2 separate regions of the Homo sapiens genome follow, and region 2 is linked to region 1. The links are contacts of gene promoters, found by promoter capture Hi-C in blood cells and fetal thymus (Javierre and others, 2016). All regions are on one chromosome and are shown on one strand. The core of a region is centred on a gene start or on the middle of the fragment in contact, and the rest is flanking DNA. Distances in the headings are between cores, read along the strand shown. Region 1 holds the start of SEH1L (SEH1 like nucleoporin). Region 2 overlaps LDLRAD4 (low density lipoprotein receptor class A domain containing 4).

Region 1 (5,423 bases), core at 1,679-4,178:
GAGGCAGGAGGGATTACTTGAGCCCAGGAGTTTAAGGCTATGATCACGCCCGTGAATAGCCACTGCACTCCAGCCTGGGCAACATGGCAAGACTCCATCTCAAAACAAAAAAATTAAACCTTATTACCCAGAAAAAATATAGATTACAATAAGAAGGTGCCAATTTCACCTGTTAAAAATGTAACGAGGGCAATAACACTATCAAATCAATACTATCACTGGCGGTATAAAACGGTACGACCTGCAAAATAGCAATTTGTCAATTCTCTTCAATAGTGTTTAAAATATCCACTAATTTATCTTCTAGAATTAGCCTAAGAAAATCATTCAAAATACATAAAATGCTAAACTAATGAAAAATTTCAGTACAACACTATTTCTGACAAGACATATACGTATATACACACACTCTACCATGACAACTTAAAACGTTAAAGGAAAAACAGAGGAAATCAATAAATATTAACACATTAGCAATAAGTCTATAATTTTTTCACTTTCTAAAAAGAAAAATATATTACTTGCTCAATTAAAAATATATACAAATAAATACATGGCTCCTCCTTTAAAAAAAAAGTACTCTGGAATAAATGGACCTAAGAGGGCTGGGCAAGGTGACTCACACCTGTAATCCCAGCACTCTGGGAGGCTGAGGTGAGAGGATCACTTGAGCTCAGGAGTTCGAGACTAGCCTGGGCAACGCAGCAAGACCCTGCCTCTACAAAAAAAATGTTTTAATTGGCCAGGCGTGGTGGCGTGCACTCGTAGTCCCAGCTACTGGAGAGGCTAAGGTGGGAGGATGGCTTGAACCTGGGATGTTGAGGCTGCAACAAGCCAAGATCGCACCACTGCACTCCAGCCTGGGTGACAGAGCCAGACTCTGCCTCAAAAAAAAAGGAAAAAGAAAAAAGAAAAAAAAAATTATACTAAGTGAAATAAACCAAATATAAAAGGGCGAATATTCTATGATTCTATTTATCTGAGGTACCTAGAATATGCAAATTAATAGAAAGCAGTAGAATAGAGGTTACCAGAGGATGGGGTGGCGGAACAGGGTGCTCTTGGGTACAGAGTTTCAGTTTAGGATGATGAAAAGGTTCTGGAGATGGGCAGGGGCGACGCTGCACAAAAATGTGAATGCTGTGCTCTATGCCACTGAATTCTACACTTTAAAACGGTTAACGTGGGCCGGGCGCGGTGGCTCACGCCCGTAATCCTAGCACTTTGGGAGGCCGAGGTGGGCGGATCACGAGGTCAGGAGATAGAGACCATCCTGGCTAACATGGTGAAACCCTGTCTCTACTAAAAAATACAAAAAATTAGCCGGGCGTGGTGGCGGGCGCCTGTAGTCCCAGCTACTTGGGAGGCTGAGGCAGGAGAATGGCGTGAACCCGGGAGGCGGAGCTTGCAGTGAGCCAAGATTGCGCCACCCCACTCCAGCCTGGGTGACAGAGCAAGACTCCGTCTCAAAAAAAAAAAAAAAAAAAAAAAAAAAACGGTTAACGTAGTTTATTACAACAAAAATAAACTTGTTTTAAAAAAGAAACTACATCTTTTAAAAATTGCAACACTATTTATAAAAAGTTTATCTTTGAGAGATCACTGGTATCAAACTCGAATGTGAAAAAGGATAAACTATCCTTCAGATTTCCAGTTACTCTGGAGTTGTCGAGAACCAAATAATCCGCACTCCAGCTTTCATTCATCCTGCAACACATCTGGGAGGTTCCTAAATCTCATGTAGCATCCCCACATTAGAAATTCTGCTTGTAGGCCGGGCGCGGTGGCTCACGCCTGTAATCCCAGCACTTTGGGAGGCCGAGGCGCCGAGGCGGGTGGATCACGAGGTCAGGAGTTCGAGACCAGCCTGGCCCACATGGTGAAACTCTGTCTCTACTAAAAAATACAAAAAAAAAAAAAGATTAGCCGGGGGTGGTGGCGTGCACCTGTAATCCCTGCTACTTGGGAGGCTGGGGCAGGATAATCGCCTGAAAGCGGGAGGCGGACGTTGCAGTGAGCCGAGATCGTGCCATTGCACTCCAGCCTGGGTGACAGAGTGAGACTCGGTCTCAAAAAAAAAAAAAAAAAAAGAAAAGAAATTCTGCTTGTCGGAAGTGTCTACAGACGTTTACGGGAACTTCAAGAAACAAACCCTCCGATTCCTGGGCAGCAAGCAGGGAAATCATTGGATGTAAATGGTTTGTATTTTTCTTCCTCGGCGTAACAAAGTGAGCTTCTGCTCTGAACCCACGGAGAAAACCATGTGCCCTGGTGAGAGAACACCGGCGGGGCACAGAACTCGACGCAGCGCCAGCCAGGCAAAGTCTCCCACCAGGTCCCACTGCAGGTCGTCGGGTGAACAGCGCGGGCAAGACCCACGACGCCGAGGCTGACGGTGGGATGCCCCTGGGTTCCCGCCCGCAGCCCCGGCAGCGCGGCCTGGGAGAGGGCCCGGCGTACCCTGCGGGCGGGAGCGCGCACGTGGCACCAGCTGCGCAGGCGCACGGGAGGGCGGCCCGCGAGGCCGCCGTGACCCCACAATACGCGGGCGGGGAGGGCTTCCGCTCAGTCCAGCCAGGGCTCGCCCGCCACCCCACAGCTTCCAGCGGCGTCACTGAACCAAGACACAGCCCCGTTCCCCGCGCCGCCCACCCACTCCCCTTCCTTCCTTCCGGGGTCGGCCCCGCCCGCAAGCGCCGCGCGCACCTTAACGCTCTGATCGCTGGAGCAGGTTGCCATCCGCCGCCCGTGGAAGTCGAAAGAGACATCGTGGATGAGATCCTTGTGGTCCGCCGCGATGCTGCGAGCCACAAACATGGTTTCCGTCGGGCCCGCGCCTCCGAAGAGGACAGTGGCGGCGGCAGCGGCGGCGGCGCGTGGCCCGTAGCCTAGCCAGACCTCGCAGCCCGGGAGCGCACGGCTTGTGCTGCCCACGCCCCCGCACCGCCCCTGCCTATCAAGCCCCGCCCACACACCCTCCGGTCCTTCAAGCCCCGCCCCACCCACCGGCCCGTCAGGCCCCACACAGTCCCCTGGCCCCTCAAGCCCTGCCCACGCCCCGGCCCGTCATGACTCGCCCCACCTTCCGGTCCCTCAAGCCCCGCCCCGCCCCCAGGCCCGTCAAGCCCCGCCTACCCTCCCACCAGAGCCGTCATGCCTCGCCCCACCCTCCCGCCCCCTCAAGCCCCGCCCTGTTCCCGGCTCGTCAATCCTCGTCCCGCCCCCGGCCCGTCATGCCCTACGATCCTGGTGCGGGTTCCTCCAGGCTCTGACCGTTCGGCGGCGGAGGGTGCTCTGCAAAAGGCGAGTTACCTGTGCTGAGAAGTAGTAAGAGCTTATTGGTATACTGTGCAAATGAAGAAAGATGAAAAAGTGAAGACTGCCTCTCACGGTCCTCGGCCCTGAATCATTTAAGTCGACGTTTGGATGTGTTTCCCCCCAGACACATGCGAGGCGCGCGGAGCAGGTGGAGAAGACGAACCGTGGGTTTGGTCAGGAGCCGCGCTCCGTCGGGACGGCTGAAGAGCAGGGAGGGCCGGGGAGACGCCTGAGGGGATGACAAGCAGTCCAGGCTCGGCAGCCTAAGAGCGAAGGCTGGACGGGGAGGAAAGGATCAGAAGTAGTAGTTTAAATGTGTCAAGATTTTACAGGTAGAACAGGCCTGGGGGTGCTAGGAGCCACCACGGGGGTAGGGAAATAGTATGAATTAGAAGAGTCCGCCTGTAGAAACGTGTCATCCCGGGGGAAGGAAGCGGCCGGGGAAGTGGGCTGCTTGCTACCCGGGAGCCAGAGTCCTCCGGGGAAAAGGAAGTGAAGAGGGCCAGAGCCCCTGGGAAGAGGCCTGGCTCAGATCAAGGATTCTGCCAAAACCGGAAAGTGGAGGAGCCAACGACTCGGGGGGTTTTGCTTATCAGGAAAAGGCATTCTAGAGGGCGTAGTGGTAAAGTTAGGATGGGAGACAGTGGAAGCTTGCGTCAGGGGAGCGAAAGTACAGAAAAAAAAAAAATGAGGCTGCAGAAGGGACTTGCCCTTTGGATTTTGGCCAGGAATGACAAAAATGTGAGGTATGGTAAAATTAGCAGGCTGGAAAGTTTTTTAAATGATTAGTCCCAGCTGTCCCCTGATGGATTGCACAGAAACCTGCAAAGAGAAGTGGCGCAATGACCTGACCTTTTTCAACCATAAATAAGATTTTATTGCTACTTTAAGAGGTGGGCCCCACCTCTTATGATAACTGATAACAACTATAACTTTTTTGAAGGTCAAAGACACTCATTTCCAAAGAAAGTGCTCACTATAAAAGTCCAATCAAAATATATTGATTATTATAAAAATATCAAAACAGTTTAAAAATTGTTTTAATTAAATTTAAATACAGACAGTAAACAGATCATTGGTTGCCAGAGATTATCAGAGTGGGAGTGAAGTGTTGAATTAGGTGAAACAGTGGATTTTTTAAAATAGACTTTAGTTTTTAGAACACTTTCAGGTTCACAGCAAAATTGAGCAGAAAATAGAGTTCCCGTATGTACCCCTACTGTCACACATGCACAGCATCCTCCACTGTCAACATCCCATACCAAAGTGGTACCTTTGTTATGATCAGTGAACCTACATTGACACATCATTATCACCCAAAATTCAGAGTTTGCATTAGGGTTCACTCTTGGTGTTTTATTCTGTGGGTTTTGGCAAATATATAATGACATGGATCCACCATTATAGTATCACGCGGAATAGTTTGACTGCCCTGAAAATCCTTAGTGCTCCTGTTCATCCCTTTCTTCCGACAACACCTGGCAACCGCTGATCTTTCCACTGACTGCATGGTTTTGACTTTTCCAGAATGGCATATAATGGGAATCTTGGAGTGGCTAGCCTTTTCAGATTGGCTTCTTTCCTTATAGTAATATGCATTTAAGCTTTCTCCATGTCTTGTCTTGAGAGTTCATTTCTTTTTAGTGCTGAATAATATTCCATTGTCAGGCTGTAACAGTGTTTATTCATTCCCCAACTAAAGGGCATTCTGGTTGTTTCTGTGTTTGGGCAATTATCAATAAAGCTCCTACAAACATCTGTGTACAGGTTTTTGTGTGGACATGTTCGCAACTCCTTTGGGTAGATACCAAGAAGCATGATTGCTGGATCATATTGTAAGAGTAAGTTTAGTTTTGTTTTTTGGGGTTTTGTTTTGTTTTTTGAGACAGGGTCTCACTCTGTCATGGCAGACAATCGTGGCTCACTGCAGCTTTAAATTCCCTGGGTTCAGATGATCCTCCCACCTCAGCCTCCCGAGCAGCTGGGACTACAGGCACAGTGCCACCACACCCAGCTAATTTTTCTGTTTTTTGCAGAGATGGGGTTTCACCATGTTGAGCAGGCTGGTCTCAAACTCTTGGGCTCAAGCGATCCTCTTGCCTTGG
Region 2 (5,423 bases), core at 1,856-4,355, 650 kb before region 1:
TTTTTTAATTTCTAGTTTTTCTTCTTTTTATTTTTTAAATAAAAAATTAGGCCGGGCACAGTGGCTCACACCTGTAATCTTAACACTTTGGGAGGCCAAGGTGGGCAGATCACTTAAGGTCAGAAGTTCGAGACCAGCCTGGCCAATATGTTGAAACCCAGACTCTACTAAAAATACAAAAATTAGTTAGAAATTCCTTGAACCCGGGAGGCGGAGGTTGCAATGAGCTGAGATTGTGCCACTCCACTCCAGCCTGGGTGACAGAGTGAGACTCCATCTCAAAAAAAAAAAAAAAAAAAAAAATTAAATGCCATGGTTTAAGAATGATGTCTGATAAAATTCCCCCCATCCCACCACCAATGATGATTCCCAAAGCAACCAATATACTGCTTTGGGAAGGATGTGGATTTGCAGTCAGATATCCTGGGTTGAAATTCTAACCCCTACTAAACTGTCTGATACGATCAAGTTCTTTTTTACTTTTAGTATCAGGTTCGGGGGTACATGTGCAGGTTTGATACAAGGTTATACTGCATGCTGCTGGGGCTTGTGCTTCTATTGATCTTGTCTCCAAGACAGTGAGCATAATACCCGATAGGAAGTTTTTCAGCCCTTTCCCACCTCTCTCCTTCCTTCCTTTTGGAGTCCCCAGTTTCTATTGTTCCCATTTCTATGTCCATGAGTATCCAGTGCTTAGCTTCCATGTATAAGTGAGAAAATACTTATATTTACTTTTTCTGTTTCTGCATTAATTCACTTAGAATAATGGCCTCCGGCTGCATCCATGTTTCTGCAAAGGACATGATTTCATTCTTTTTCACAGCTGTGTAGTACTTCATGGTGCATATGTACCACATTTTCTTCATCCACTACGGATGGACATCTAGGTTGATTCCATGTCTTTGCTATTGTGAACAAGTGCTACAATAAATATACAGGTGCAAGTGTCTTTTTGGTAGACTGATTTATTTTCCTTTGGGCATATATCCAGTAGTGGGATTGCTGGGTGGAATGGTAGTTCTATTTTCAGTTCTTTGAGAAATCTCCAAACTGCATTCTATAGTGGCTGAACTAACTTGCATTTCCACCAAGAGTGTGTAAGTGTTCCCTTTTCTTTTCCTTTTTTTTTCTTTTTTTTTTTTTCAGACAGAGTCTCACTCTGTCGCCCAGGCTGGAGTGCCGTGGCGCAATCTTGGCTCACTGCAAGCTCCGCCTCCCGGGTTCATGCCATTCTCCTGCCTCAGCCTCCCGAGTAGCTGGGACTACAGGCGCCCGCCACCATGCCCGGAAGTGTTCCCTTTTCTCTGCAGCCTCGTCAATATCTGTTATTTTTTGTCTTTTTAATAATAGCTGTTTTGACTGCTGTGAGGTGGTCACTGTGGTTTTGATTTGCATTTCTCTTATGGTTAGTGATGTTGAGCATTTTTTCCTATGTTTGTTGGTCACTTGTAAGTCTTCTTTTGAGAAGTGTTTGTTCATGTCCTTTGCCCAGTTTTTAGTGGGGTTATTTGTTTTATTCTCATTGATTTGTTTACATTCCTCATAGATTTTGGATAAATGATCATTGTTAAATGCATTATAACATCAGATTTCTGCGTTTAAAATATTTCTACAGGGCTGACAAATGGAAACATGACAAACTTAGCTGTGAATGTGAGGCCCCTGGTTAACCAGAGATAATGGAGATGGATCGACTGGACTTTATGATGACACCTTGCCACCATGAAATGGACAGAAGCCAAAGGGTTAGGAGAACAGGTGCCCATCCTCCCTAAAGGCCTGATAGTGCCTTTTATGCAGATAAGGAGAAACATGGTCTTGTTTTGATTAAAAATGACCTTAATTAAGTCTGTTATTCTCAACATAGTAAATACCCACAGCAGGAAAGCAAATACAGTAAAATAGAGTGTTAATAATAAAAATGTAGAGTCCTCATAGAAGGAATGCTACTCTGGCAGAAACCCATCTAATTTTGGTTATACAAATAAAAGTAATTTTAAAAAAATTTACAAGCTTAGAAATGGTAATACTGCAAATACCTTTACAATTTTGTTTCCTATAATATACCTTACAGAAAAATTTTCCAAACCAGTCTATCACCATTCATCCTCTGAGAGGCAGAAATCCTGGCAAAGGTTGGCTGCAGGGTGGCAATTTGGTCACACATGGTCTTCTTGGTGATTTTTAGCTCAAACAGACAAAACAGCAAATGGCGAACCTTGATCAGACTCCAGCTGAATGCCCTGGAAGTCTTAGGCTACAGATTCTGTCTGCTGTCATTATGCCTGGAACATTTTGGCTTTAGTGACTCTTGATGCAGTTGGATGCTGGTCAGGAGACCCAGGGTCTAGTGCCACCTGTCCTGCTAGCTGAAAGTGACATCTTGAGTCACACAGCTGTGCAGTCCTCACATGTCTCATTTCATTGCTAGGACCAAATCAATGTCTTGCACACTTCAGTCCAAGTCCTTCAAGTCCCACCCTAAGGATTCTTAAAATACCTGCACTCCACATGTTCTATTATTTATTTAATATTGATTTTAAACTGGACTTCAATTAATTCATTTTTTAAAAAATTTAACTTCTAAGTAACAATATCCAAAAAATCACAGGCCTGATATGCTAGATATTTTAAATAAAACATTTGAGGCAAGCATATTATTAAAAATTGTATAATAAAATTACAGGTATAGTGGTATGTGCCTATAGTTTCAGCTACCTGGGAGGCTAAGGCAAGAGGATTGCTTCATTTGCTCAGGAGTTTGAGACCAGACTGGTCAATATAGTGAGACCCTGTCTCTATTTTTAAAAGATATATAATAAAATCCAAAACAATCTTTAATGTTATTTATAGAATATAAAGATAATTTTCTTTCTTTTGCTCATTTAAAAGAAAGGTTTGCTGTATAATTTAGTTTCAATCAATTAGTAAGAAAAACATGACTTGTCCACATATATATTGTGTTTGAAACTTTAACACAGTTAAAATATAATATAGGAGACTCACGGCCGGGTGCGGTGGCTCATGCCTGTAATCCCAGCACTATGGGAGGCCAAGACAGGCGGATCACGAGGTCAGGAGATCGAGACCATCCTGGCTAACAGGGTGAAACCCCATCTCTACTAAAAATACAAAAAAATTAGCCGGGTGTGGTGGCGGGCGCCTGTAGTCCCAGCCACTCAGGAGGCTGAGGCAGGAAAATGGCGTGAACCCAGGAGGTGGAGCTTGCAGTGAGCCGTGATCACGCCACTACACTCCATCCTGGGTGACTGAGTGAGACTCTGTCTCAAAAAAAAAAAAAAAAAAAAAATTGGAGACTCAAAGAATAGTGAGCTGAGAAGTTCCACAGACTCACTTGCCAGGAAAACAACCATAATTGCTGAAATTATGTAAAAGAGTAACCATTTTGAGTCTCTGAAAATTGTCCAAGGGAATTTCAGCAGATTAATAAATATCTTGTTTCAAGAAAATCTATTAAAATCTCTTACTTCCATTGTAAGAACAGTGACAGTCTGTGGCACTTGAGCCACAACCCACTCCTTCCCTCTCCCTTCCCCAGTTCAGCACAGGGAAGATCTACACTGAGTGGGTGTGGCAAAAAAACAAGAGTTTCCTCTCTCCCCACTTCCCAACAAAGCCTATGGCATCTCCAGTGAAAGGCAAGCACAGCACGTCCCTGTTGCAGAGGTTAAATTACAGGTGAATGCAGTCAAGAGGCCATAGGCTTCCTATTACCACTTGGCCTTCCTTGTTCTACCCCTTCCTCACCCCCACTCTTAGGGCAGAAGATCTATCCGAGGAATGGCAGGCTAATGATAGCATGGTCCCAACTGCTTCTAGCCCAGTTCATTCACAGGGTGGAAATTCCATGTAAGGAGAGGCAAGCTAAAAAGACCAGCGGCTACTACCTCTACCCAGTGTCCTGCCCATCCTGCCCATAAAGTTGAGGAGGGCTCACTCAGAGAAGTGAGCTAATGTCCCCACTCCAGCTGTGGAGCATCAACTCAGAGATTTTGCCCAGAGTGTACAGGCAGGCCATAAGAACAAAGAGTTCCAAAGCTCTGCTACCGAAAACTTACTTTATTTAGAACAGTATGTGAGGAAGCTCAAGTGTAAGGGTGCTTTCAAAAACTGTAGAAATTTTGGTAGTAAGAAATTGAGAGGAGGCTAGTAGCTCTTTGAGAGTGACAAGCTTAACTCTAGGTCAGCAATTTTACAGAGAATCAGAGAAAGAGACAGTTAAGAAGAACCTTTCTGGGGTCAGAACAAACCTCAAAGGCTAGATCAAAAATGACCCCTGCAAAGGGGCCTGAATTTAGTTGGATCAGACTCTGTAGTGATTTATGCCCCAGGCATAGAGGAAAACAATAAAGCAATTAGCCAGCAATTAGTGGAAACTAACAGCTGGGTGTGATACCAACTAAGGCAGACAGCTTGACAGAAATATGAAGCAAAGAAACAAAGAGAGCTCTGCTAAAATCACTGCCATCCCAGGGTGACTGTGCCATATCCAAGGCTGTGCCCTCTGAGGAGTGACATCAGAGGCTTCACATTGCAAGGAAAACAGACTTTAATAAAATAGTCCAACGAAGCTACTAAATAAATGAGAAAACAACAAGAAGTTCTGGGGAGGAGGAGAAAATCCGTCTCTAGAGGAGTCAATACAATATATTATCAAAATGTCCAGTTTTCAGTAACAAAAAATGAGACAAGCAAAGGAAAGTGTGACACATAAACAGGAAATAAAGCAGGCAATAGAAACTACCTGTGGGAGGGCCCAGATATCCAGCTTAACAAAAACTTCACAATAGCCATTACAAGTATGTTCAAAGAAATCAAGGAAACAATGATTAAAGAAGCAAAGCAAGGTAAAATGGCATTGTTGCATCAAACAGAGAATATCAATAAAGAAATAGAATTATCTGTGAAAAAACCAAATGGAATGCCTGGTATTGAAAATACAATAACCAAAATAAAAAATTCACTAGAGCTTAACAGTAGATCAATAAAGAAATAGAATTATCTGTGAAAAAACCAAATGGAATGCCTGGTGTTGAAAATACAATAACCAAAATAAAAAATTCACTAGAGCTTAACAGTAGATCTAAACTGACATAAGAGAGATTTAGCAAACTTATAGATTGATAAAGACTGTGCACTCTGAGTAACAGAAAAATGATTGAAGAGAAACAAGTAGAGCCTTAGATAAAAAACACAAGACATCATTAATCACACCAACATACACATTAGGAGTACCACAGGAAAGGAGAGAGAGAGAGAGAGAGAGAGAAATGAGCAGAAACAAAAATCCAAAGAATAATGGCTGAAAATGTACTAAAGTTATTGAAAAAGTTAATCTATACACTCAGGAATTACAACAAACTCCAAATAGGATAAATTCAAAGAGACCAAAAAACAGGCAC

The links. Contacts are between HindIII fragments. The CHiCAGO score rates a contact against its expected background, and 5 or more counts as called.
Region 2: a fragment that was not itself captured here is called in contact with the fragment with the promoter of SEH1L in region 1 in 1 of 17 cell types (naive B cells); the score reaches 5.1 in naive B cells.

Annotation. Positions count from the first base shown.
Region 1 is chr18:12,945,516-12,950,938 of GRCh38, reverse strand. SEH1L (SEH1 like nucleoporin) reads right to left here and starts at 2,928. Exons shown (of 9, transcript NM_001013437.2): 1 at 2,707-2,928. The coding sequence starts at 2,817. RefSeq lists an enhancer at 1,748-2,349 and silencers at 2,281-2,380, 2,391-2,740, 2,781-3,230. The HindIII fragment of the contact is 15,085 bases long and covers 1-3,970 here.
Region 2 is chr18:13,597,374-13,602,796 of GRCh38, reverse strand. The region is part of intron 4 of LDLRAD4 (low density lipoprotein receptor class A domain containing 4); the gene reads right to left. Among named protein-coding and RNA genes, the nearest start is that of MIR4526, 11 kb to the left of the region's middle. The HindIII fragment of the contact is 2,179 bases long and covers 2,016-4,194 here.